Linked DNA regions of Homo sapiens: all the other regions are linked to region 2. The links are contacts of gene promoters, found by promoter capture Hi-C in blood cells and fetal thymus (Javierre and others, 2016). All regions are on one chromosome and are shown on one strand. The core of a region is centred on a gene start or on the middle of the fragment in contact, and the rest is flanking DNA. Distances in the headings are between cores, read along the strand shown.

The links. Contacts are between HindIII fragments. The CHiCAGO score rates a contact against its expected background, and 5 or more counts as called.
Region 1: a contact is called between the fragment with the promoter of MAP1LC3C here and the fragment with the promoter of RGS7 in region 2, in 4 of 17 cell types (neutrophils, naive B cells, fetal thymus and 1 more). The highest score is 6.3, in neutrophils.
Region 3: a fragment that was not itself captured here is called in contact with the fragment with the promoter of RGS7 in region 2 in 1 of 17 cell types (endothelial precursors); the score reaches 6.4 in endothelial precursors.

What each region holds. Positions count from the first base shown.
Region 1 is chr1:241,997,699-242,000,398 of GRCh38, forward strand. It overlaps MAP1LC3C (microtubule associated protein 1 light chain 3 gamma), which reads right to left and starts at 1,400. Exons shown (of 4, transcript NM_001004343.3): 1 at 1,253-1,400; 2 at 1,078-1,133; 3 at 816-922. The coding sequence starts at 1,310. RefSeq lists an enhancer at 1,385-1,910. The HindIII fragment of the contact is 10,018 bases long and covers 1,256-2,700 here.
Region 2 is chr1:241,355,796-241,358,495 of GRCh38, forward strand. It overlaps RGS7 (regulator of G protein signaling 7), which reads right to left and starts at 1,410. Exons shown (of 19, transcript NM_001364886.1): 1 at 1,104-1,410; 2 at 1-31. LOC124904601 (a long non-coding RNA gene) reads left to right here and starts at 1,457. Exons shown (of 2, transcript XR_007067052.1): 1 at 1,457-1,687; 2 at 2,028-2,700. RefSeq lists a silencer at 1,262-1,311. The HindIII fragment of the contact is 5,062 bases long and covers 1-2,700 here.
Region 3 is chr1:240,734,075-240,736,774 of GRCh38, forward strand. No RefSeq gene overlaps it. Among named protein-coding and RNA genes, the nearest start is that of GREM2, 120 kb to the left of the region's middle. The HindIII fragment of the contact is 5,022 bases long and covers 1-2,700 here.

The DNA.
Region 1 (2,700 bases), core at 150-2,649, 640 kb after region 2:
GCCTGTTCTTTGCTGTACCTCTGGCTTAACCAAGGGAGGAGTGTGTTTGGGGGATGCTTTTCTCTCTCAGTGTTCTGAGCAGGGAACGTTTCCTTTGGGGAGAAGTCCCCACCCCTAGGCACACATACACTTGGAAAAGGTGCTGGTCTCTGCAACGGACGCGCAGACTCGGTTTCACACAAGATCTGAAAGAAAGGATCTCCCGGCCTAGCTTGAGAGCCAAGACTAACTACTTTAGGAAATTCTTAGAAATGTTGGCAGGTCTTTTTTGTTGTTGTCGTTGTCTGAGGGATTCTCCTTACCTGTTTAAAATAGAGTAATTCTTTTTTTTTTTTTTTTTTTTTTGAGACAGAGTTTCACTCTTGTTGCCCAGGAGTGCAGTGGAACAGTCTCGGCTCACTGTAACCTCCGCCTCCCAGGTTCAAGCGATTCTCCTGCCTCAGCCTCCCAAGTAGCTAGGATTACAGGCACCCGCCACCACGCCTAGCTAATTTTTGTATTTTTAGTAGAGACAGGGTTTCACCACGTTGGCCAGGCTGGTCTCAAACTCCTGACCTCTGCGATCCACCTGCCTCAGCCTCCCAGAGTGCTGGGATTACAGGCATGAGCCACTCCGCCCGGGGTTTAAAATAGAGTAATTCTAAGAGCATCTTTTCAGGGTACTAGTGAATCTAAAAGGTGACTTCAAAAAAATCTCTTTCCTCTCTTCCCCTGACGTGCCCCCATCCCCAAAATAAAACTGCCAAACGAAGAAAGCCCAACAGCCCCGGCGCACCCAGCGCACCTTCCTCCGGGGCACGCTCTGCGCCACCTACCGGATGATGCTGAGGAACTGGGTCATGGTCAGCTCCTGCGGGACCAGGAACTTGGTTTTGTCCAGCGGGGGCAGGAACGTCTCCCTGGGGTAGCGCTCCACTACCACCTGTCAAGAGTGTCAGTCCTTAAGAATGTGACTCAGCGTGAGTGTTAGGAACTTGGAACAGACAGAGGGAAGCTGTTGGCTGCTCTTGGTTTTTCAGAGAACAGGATCGGAACCCCACCCCCACGCCCCCCAGCGGAAGTCCAGTGGTGTCTTACCGGGATTTTGTTGGGGAACTTTGCCCGGATTCCAGCAACTTCCTCTTGTCTGATTGCTGTGAATATTTCAAGCACAAGAGAAGAAGCAAAGATCAAGAAAAGAAGCAAAGATCAAGAGAAGGCCAGATCCGCTCCTCTCTTTAGATAACCCAGAAAGCTACCCCAAGAAATTTACCCAAGCTTTTCCTCTGCTTGAAGGGTCTGACGCTTGGGATTTTCTGTGGAGGCGGCATTGCACTCAGTAGCTGTGTCTGTTTTAAAAAAGAAAAAAAAACTGTCCCGCAACCGGGAACCTAACTCATTCCTCCAGCTGCTTCCAAACTGCCTGCAGGAGCCTGAAGGAGGCCCTTATGTAGGGCTGAGTGACATCAGGCCTCTCCTCTCCCTCCCCTCTCCCCACTCCCCCTCCCTGGGCAGCAGGAGGTCAGTTCTGATGGAAATGGAATCGCCACCTGCTTGCTGGTCAGAGAAAGCCACTTTGTTCATGACCAGTTCAAGATGTTTCTTTGCAAAAGAAATTAGGGTTTGTAATAAAATCATTGGCTGGGCAGCGGACTGTGGAGAGGTAAAACTGCCTTGTGCTGGGATGTTTTTGCCCTTCAGTAGCAAGGGGGGGTCCAAGCTGGATCCACCTCAGCCTGAAGTGTGCTGTGTAGTTCTCACAATGGTCCATGCCCTTTATCACAGAAGGAAACCTATACTAAGAAAGGTGAAGTGATTTGCTCGAGGGCACACAGCAAGTAAGAGAAGCGGTATGGATTAAAACCTAGAGCTGTACACTGGGTGCAGTGGCCCACGCCTGTAATCCCAGCACGTGGGAGGCCGAGGCGGGTGGATCACCTGGCCAACATGCTGAAACCCCATCTCTACTAAAAATACAAAAATTAGCCGGACGTGGTGGCTGGCACCTGTAATCCCACCTACTCAGGAGGCTGAGGCAAGAGAATCGCTTGAACCCAGGATGCGGAGGTTGTAGTGAGCTCAGGTCACACCATTGCACTCCAGCCTCGGCAACAAGAGCGAAACTTCATCTCAAAACAAAACAAAACAAAACAAAAAAAACCCAGAGTTGTTACAAGGAAGTCCAAGTACTACACTCCAGTATATTCTGTCACTTAGTTTTCTCTGGGATAAAAGAAGGAAGGAAGGACAATTGTCCCCAAGATCTTGCTTTTAGAGTTAAGAAACTGGGTCTCTGGTCATACATAGGGGAAACCAAACTCCATTTCTCCTATATTCTCACAACACAGATCACTTTTGACACTAGATGTGTGTGTGTGTGTGTGGGTGGGTGGGGGTTCCCCATACACCGAGCAATCACTTCTACAGTGGACACCAGCTAGGTGTCCTCCAATCCAACTCTGACACTGTCTACCTGGAGACAGCATCAGATCGGGCTGAGGGCTCTGTCCCACAAGACTGTCCCCCACTTTCAATGCCGATTGCAAGCCCCAAGTTGTGTTTGTTGTTTTTTTGCTTGTTTGAAACAGAGTCTTGCTCTGTTGCCCAGGCTGGAATGTAGTGGCACGATCTCAGCTCACTGCAATCTCTGCCTCCTGAGTTCAAGCGATTTCTCCCGAGTAGCTGGGATTACAGGCACATGACACCATGCCTGGCTAATTT
Region 2 (2,700 bases), core at 160-2,659:
ACTCTCAAGATACAAGAATTATCAGTGTGCCCTGCAAAGGGTCAGAGAGACTTCAGTGAGATCCCAGTGGGACTCCCCTGATTCATCATCATCATTCACAGCACCCACCCCACATGGCGCGTTCTTACAAACTGGGGCTGGCTGGAGAAAGTGACACAGGACATGGATTTTTTAAAAAGTGAGTTGACACCTACAATAACCTCAAGGAATTGTAAGAAATTACAATCTTCCAGGTAGAAATAGCCATTTGGTTATTGTTTTAGCTGACTTCATTTTCTGGATACTCATTTTGAGAAGTGTTTGATGCTCACCCTAAAAACTCGTGGGTAGCATTTTCCTAGTACAGAGTTCTCTTCTCTCCCAATACTTGCATCTGAACTTGGTGATGTTTTCCCCAAAGGGTGGAAAGGCAACACCTGGGGGATGCGGTGGGGGAGTGGGGGGCGGGTTAGCACACTTTCTCCTAGGTATCTGTCTAGTGTCCCCACCTGCAGCCCATCAGAGAGGCCCATTCCCGGTGTCATTCTCCAGCGCACGGGCTTCCTCTCTATTCCCCCGGGTCTCCCACACAGAGCCGGAGTATATGCTTCGCCTACTTTCACCTGCCTGCGCTGCCAGCCACCGGCTGCTCTCCTTTCTCCCCACTTCGCTTCGGAAGTCCGGAGGTAATCCTGCCTAATTTTTGCAAGAAGACACCAGAATATGTCCCGGCAACAAGAACTAGTGGGAGGTCAAGCCTTCAGGCCATTTTACCCGGGTCACCGTGGGTAAAAGCCTAACTGCAGAAGCCTCCAGAGCAACCAGCCAAAGAGGAGAAAACAGGCAAGCCCCTGCTCCCCTTGCTCGCTCTCACGGCAGCAGCAAATGGCAGGCGAGCCTGTGCCCCGCGCCGCGGCGGCCGCCGGAGCCGGGCAGCAGTTTCAGCACCGTGGACCGCGGGGTGCGCGCGGCGCCCGTAGCCCAGCCCCGGCGCGGGGCTCCCGGGGGCGGCCGCCCTGCGCCCGCGGACGCTCCCGCTGCGCAGAGCGAGGGCTGGGTGCGGGCCGGGGGCCGGGAGGGCTCTGGGTGGCGCTGCCTCCTCCCCGCCCGCCTTCCCTATTTACCTCCTCCGCCAAGGTCACGGCCCCGCGGCGTCTCCCCTCCCGGGCGGGCTGGGTGCAGGCGGTGTCAGCTGGCGGCAAGCGGAGCAGCGAGGCAGGGTAGCTTCATCACACTCGCGGCGGATGCGGATTCCGCGCCGCCCCGGCTCTAGCTGCTCAGGCGACCGCCACCCTCGCCTCGCCGCCGCCCGTGCACAGGCGGCTCCGGCAGCCGCCACTCGCGCCCGCTCCCCTGGGCCGCCTCGCTGGCTCTCTCCCTCCTCCGCTTCTTCTCCCGGGGACTGGGACCAGCCGAGCGCGCGCGGGAGTCGAGACGCCCGGCCCGTGCGCGCGACTGGGAGGAGGGAGGAGGGGACAGTCACGTGGGACAGGGGCGTCCGAAGGTGCCGGCTCGGATGGGCTCGGCTCGGCCGCCGCCACACCGCCCGGGCCTCCCGGGCCTCCCCGGCCTCCCGCCCTCGCGCCCCTCGGGAGGCTGTAGTCCTGCCCCCGGCGCGGCCAGCCCGCGCTCCCGCACACCCCGCCCGCTCGCCCGCGCGTGTGTACGTGCGCCGGAGGCCTGGAGAGACCGGAGTTTAACGCCCAGTGTAAGCCGGAAAGGGAGGAAGGCTGTGCGATGGGTGGGTGGGTGGTAGGTGGGTGGGTGGTCTAGTGAATGGATGGACAGATGGACGGACGGATGCACGGATGAATGGATGGATGGAGCCCCGTGCAAACCAAGGTTTCATCACGTGCCTAACGACTCCGCTGAAAGTCCCAGGGAAGCAGATGATTTATTATTATTATTATTATTATTATTATTATTATTATTATTATTATTATTATGCTTAAATAACAGAGTAGAGAGATATTGAGACACCCTAGGAATGAAGGAAATGGCCAGGACCAAATGAATCATTCATCCCCGTTTGCCTGCGGTTTTCACAGCTTCTTCCTAAGTTGGAGAAATGGGAAACGATTTGAAAGCTGCCAACCGGAGGTGAAAATCTTGCCACTTGTGAAACTGAAGGAACATCCCCAAGGCCTGGCTTCTCCTTTTAACAGAAGGTGCTCAGAGGAACTTTCCTCTTGCCCACTGCCCTCATCCTCTAGCAATTTTCAAAGAGCTTCTGAGGTGCTGATCCTCCTAGCTATAGTCTTCGTACTGCTGCCACAAATTCTTCTGTAAGGATTAGAATGACATAAAGGAGACAGATCACTTTTGTCTCGGTGGTAGTAAAGCAACCTGTGCCTCTGGCTTTCAGGGGGAAGGGCTGGGCCGCTGTAAATCTAGTTTTCCTTCCTCTCCTGGGCCAGCTGTGGAGGAGAGGGAGGGAGAGAAGGAGAAGATAATCAAGATCAGCTGTAAATCTAGTTTTCCTTCCTCTACTGGGCCAGGTGTGGAGGAGAGGGAGGGACAGAAGGAGAAGATAATCAAGGTCAGCCTTTCCTGACCCCTTGGTCTAAGCAGACTAGACCTTATTGGAGATAACACTTCTACTCAAACAGGGGTCCATGTGGACCAATGTATTACCCCAGCCCCATGCAGGTCTTGTCAGGTTTCTCTCAAGGAACAAATATTTATCTAACCTAGCCCCTGTTCCAAGTACTACAGGAGAAA
Region 3 (2,700 bases), core at 72-2,571, 620 kb before region 2:
TCTGAATTGGTTCATTTTATGTGTCAACTGACTGGGCCAGGAGATGCCCAGGTAAAACGTCATTCTGGATGTGTCTGTGAGGATGTTTTGGATGAGATTAACATTTAAATTGGCAGACTCAGTGAAGCAGATTGCTCTCCCTGATGCGAGAGGACCTCATCCAGTCAGTTGAAGGTCTGAGTAGAACAGAATTGCTGGTCATCCCCTGAGTGAGAGGGAATTCTTCCTGCCTGACGGCTATTGAACTGGGACATCAACTTTCTTCTTGTGGCTTGGGAATGAAACTGAAAACATCCATTCTTCCTGGAGTCTTGAGTCTTTGAGCTGGAATTTTATCATCAGCTTTTCTGATTCTCAAGTGTTCAGACTCAGACTGGAACTATACTATTGGTTTTTCTGGTCTCCAGCTGGCTGACTCACCCTGCAGATCTTAGGACTTGTCAGCCTCTGTAATCATGTGAACAAATTCTTTTTTTTAAATTATTTCTTTAATTTTTTATTTCCAAAGGTTATTGGGGAACAGGTGGTGTTTGGTTACATAAGTTCTTTAGTGGTGATTTATGAGATTTTGGTGTACCCATCACCTGAGCAGTATACACTGCACCCAATTTGTAGTCTTTTATCTCTCACCCCCTTCCCACCATTTCCTCCTGAGTTCCCAAAGCCCACTGTGTCATTCTTATGCCTTTGCATCCTCATAGCTTAGCTCCCACTTATGAGTGAGAACATATGATGTTTGGTTTTCCATTCCCGAGTTACTTCACTTGGAATCATAATCTCCAGTCTCAACTAGGTTGCTGCAAATGCCATTAATTAATTCCTTTTTATGGCTGAGTAGTATTCCACCGTGTATACATACCACAGTTTCTTTATCCACGCATTGATTGATGGGCATTTGGGTTGGTTCCATTATTTTGCAGTTGCAAATTGTGCTGCTATAAACATGCATGTGCAAGTATACTTTTTCATATAATGACTTATTTTCCTCTGGGTAGATACCCAGTAGTGGGATTGCTGGATCCAATGGTAGTTCTACTTTTAGTTCTTTAAGGAATCTCCATGCTGTTTTCCATAGTGGTACTAGTTTACATTCCCACCAGCAGTGTAGAAGTCATGGGAACAAATTCTTTAAAATAAATTTCTTTATAGATGCACATTCCTATTGGTTCTGGTTTTTTGTTTTCCCTGGAGGGGCCTGACTAATAATACACCATCTGGCATTTACTTTTTCTTCTTAACAGTAACCTAGTCTCTTTTTTGGAAATTACCTCACCCATAATACATGCAGTCAATCACAGTGGGACTTCAGGTGCCTGCAATCCTATTACCAAGACTAAACTGGATGCTTTTTTCATTAGATAATTGTAAAGGTAAAAACGTTAACAAGATGAAAAATAATACCTACAAAACCCTGACTCTGGGCCAGGCACTGTTCTGTATTATTTGTATTCACTCTTTTAATCACACAGCAACCATTATGCTCATTTTTTAAAAAGTGAAACTGAGACACAGGAAGTGAAATGCTAATGGTGGGGCCAGGATTTGAGCCGTAAACATTCTGACTGCAGAGATTGTGAAGAACCAAATAAGAGTCTTGGATTTTTACCCAGAACACAGCTAGAAGCCATGAAGAGGTTTATTTTAGGAACCTCGTATAATCAGATTAGGTATTTTTTGAAACCTCCCATCTATATTTATGTGGCTATGTTCACCTGAAGAGGTGGCCCAGAAGCAGTGAAGGCAGCCCAGACAAGAAATATTATATTCACTGCTTCTGGGCAGCCTTCGCTGGTCAACATATCCAGATACAATAGGAGTTGGATGGCCGGGCGCAGTGGCTCACACCTGTAATCCCAGCACTTCGGGAGGCCAAGGTGGGCAGATCACTTGAAGTAATGAGTTCGAGACCAGCCTGGCCAACATGGCAAAACCCTGTCTCTACTAAAAATACGAAAATTAGCCAGGCATGGTAGCGGGTGCCTGTAGTCCCAGCTACTCAAGAGGCTGAGGCAGGAGAATCACCTGAGCCTAGGAGGCAGAGGCTGCAGTATGCAGAGATCAAACCACAGCACTCCAGCCTGGGCTGCAGAGTGAGACTCCTTCTAAAAAAAAGAAAAGAAAAAAAGACTTGGAGGAGTCTTGACTGGGACCGGGACCTCATTTGGGCTACTCATTCTAGCAGATCTACCTCTTTATTTCCAAAAACACTAATTAAAGCCCAGCACCCCAAATAAGGGCTTTCTCTCATTAGCTCCCAAATTACCACCTGACAGACTTGTGACTTCCACTCAGGTTGTTGGAAACATTCTGCCAGGATCATGGTGCAGAGGGCTGGAGAGTGGGCACATGGTTGGAGCTCTCTCTCATTGCCTTACAGCCAAGGTGCAGGGCCTGCGCTCCTGCTGTCGAGGCTGCCTGGTGGATTCAGATCCAACCTGATGGTCTAGTTTCCCCTCAGGTGTGTGAGTCCCGACAGGCTTCCCAAATTCTTTTTTTGCGAGTTAACTAGAATGGGTTTCTTTGCTTGCAACTGAAGAATTCAGACTAATGTTCTGAGTTATTTGTTTAAGACTTTAGGATATATGTTTAAATATAACACAATTGGCCCAGCATGGTGGCTTGCGCCTGTAATCCCAGCACTTTGGGAGGCCAAAGGAGTTCGAGACCAGCCTGGCCAACATGACGAAACCCCATGTCTAC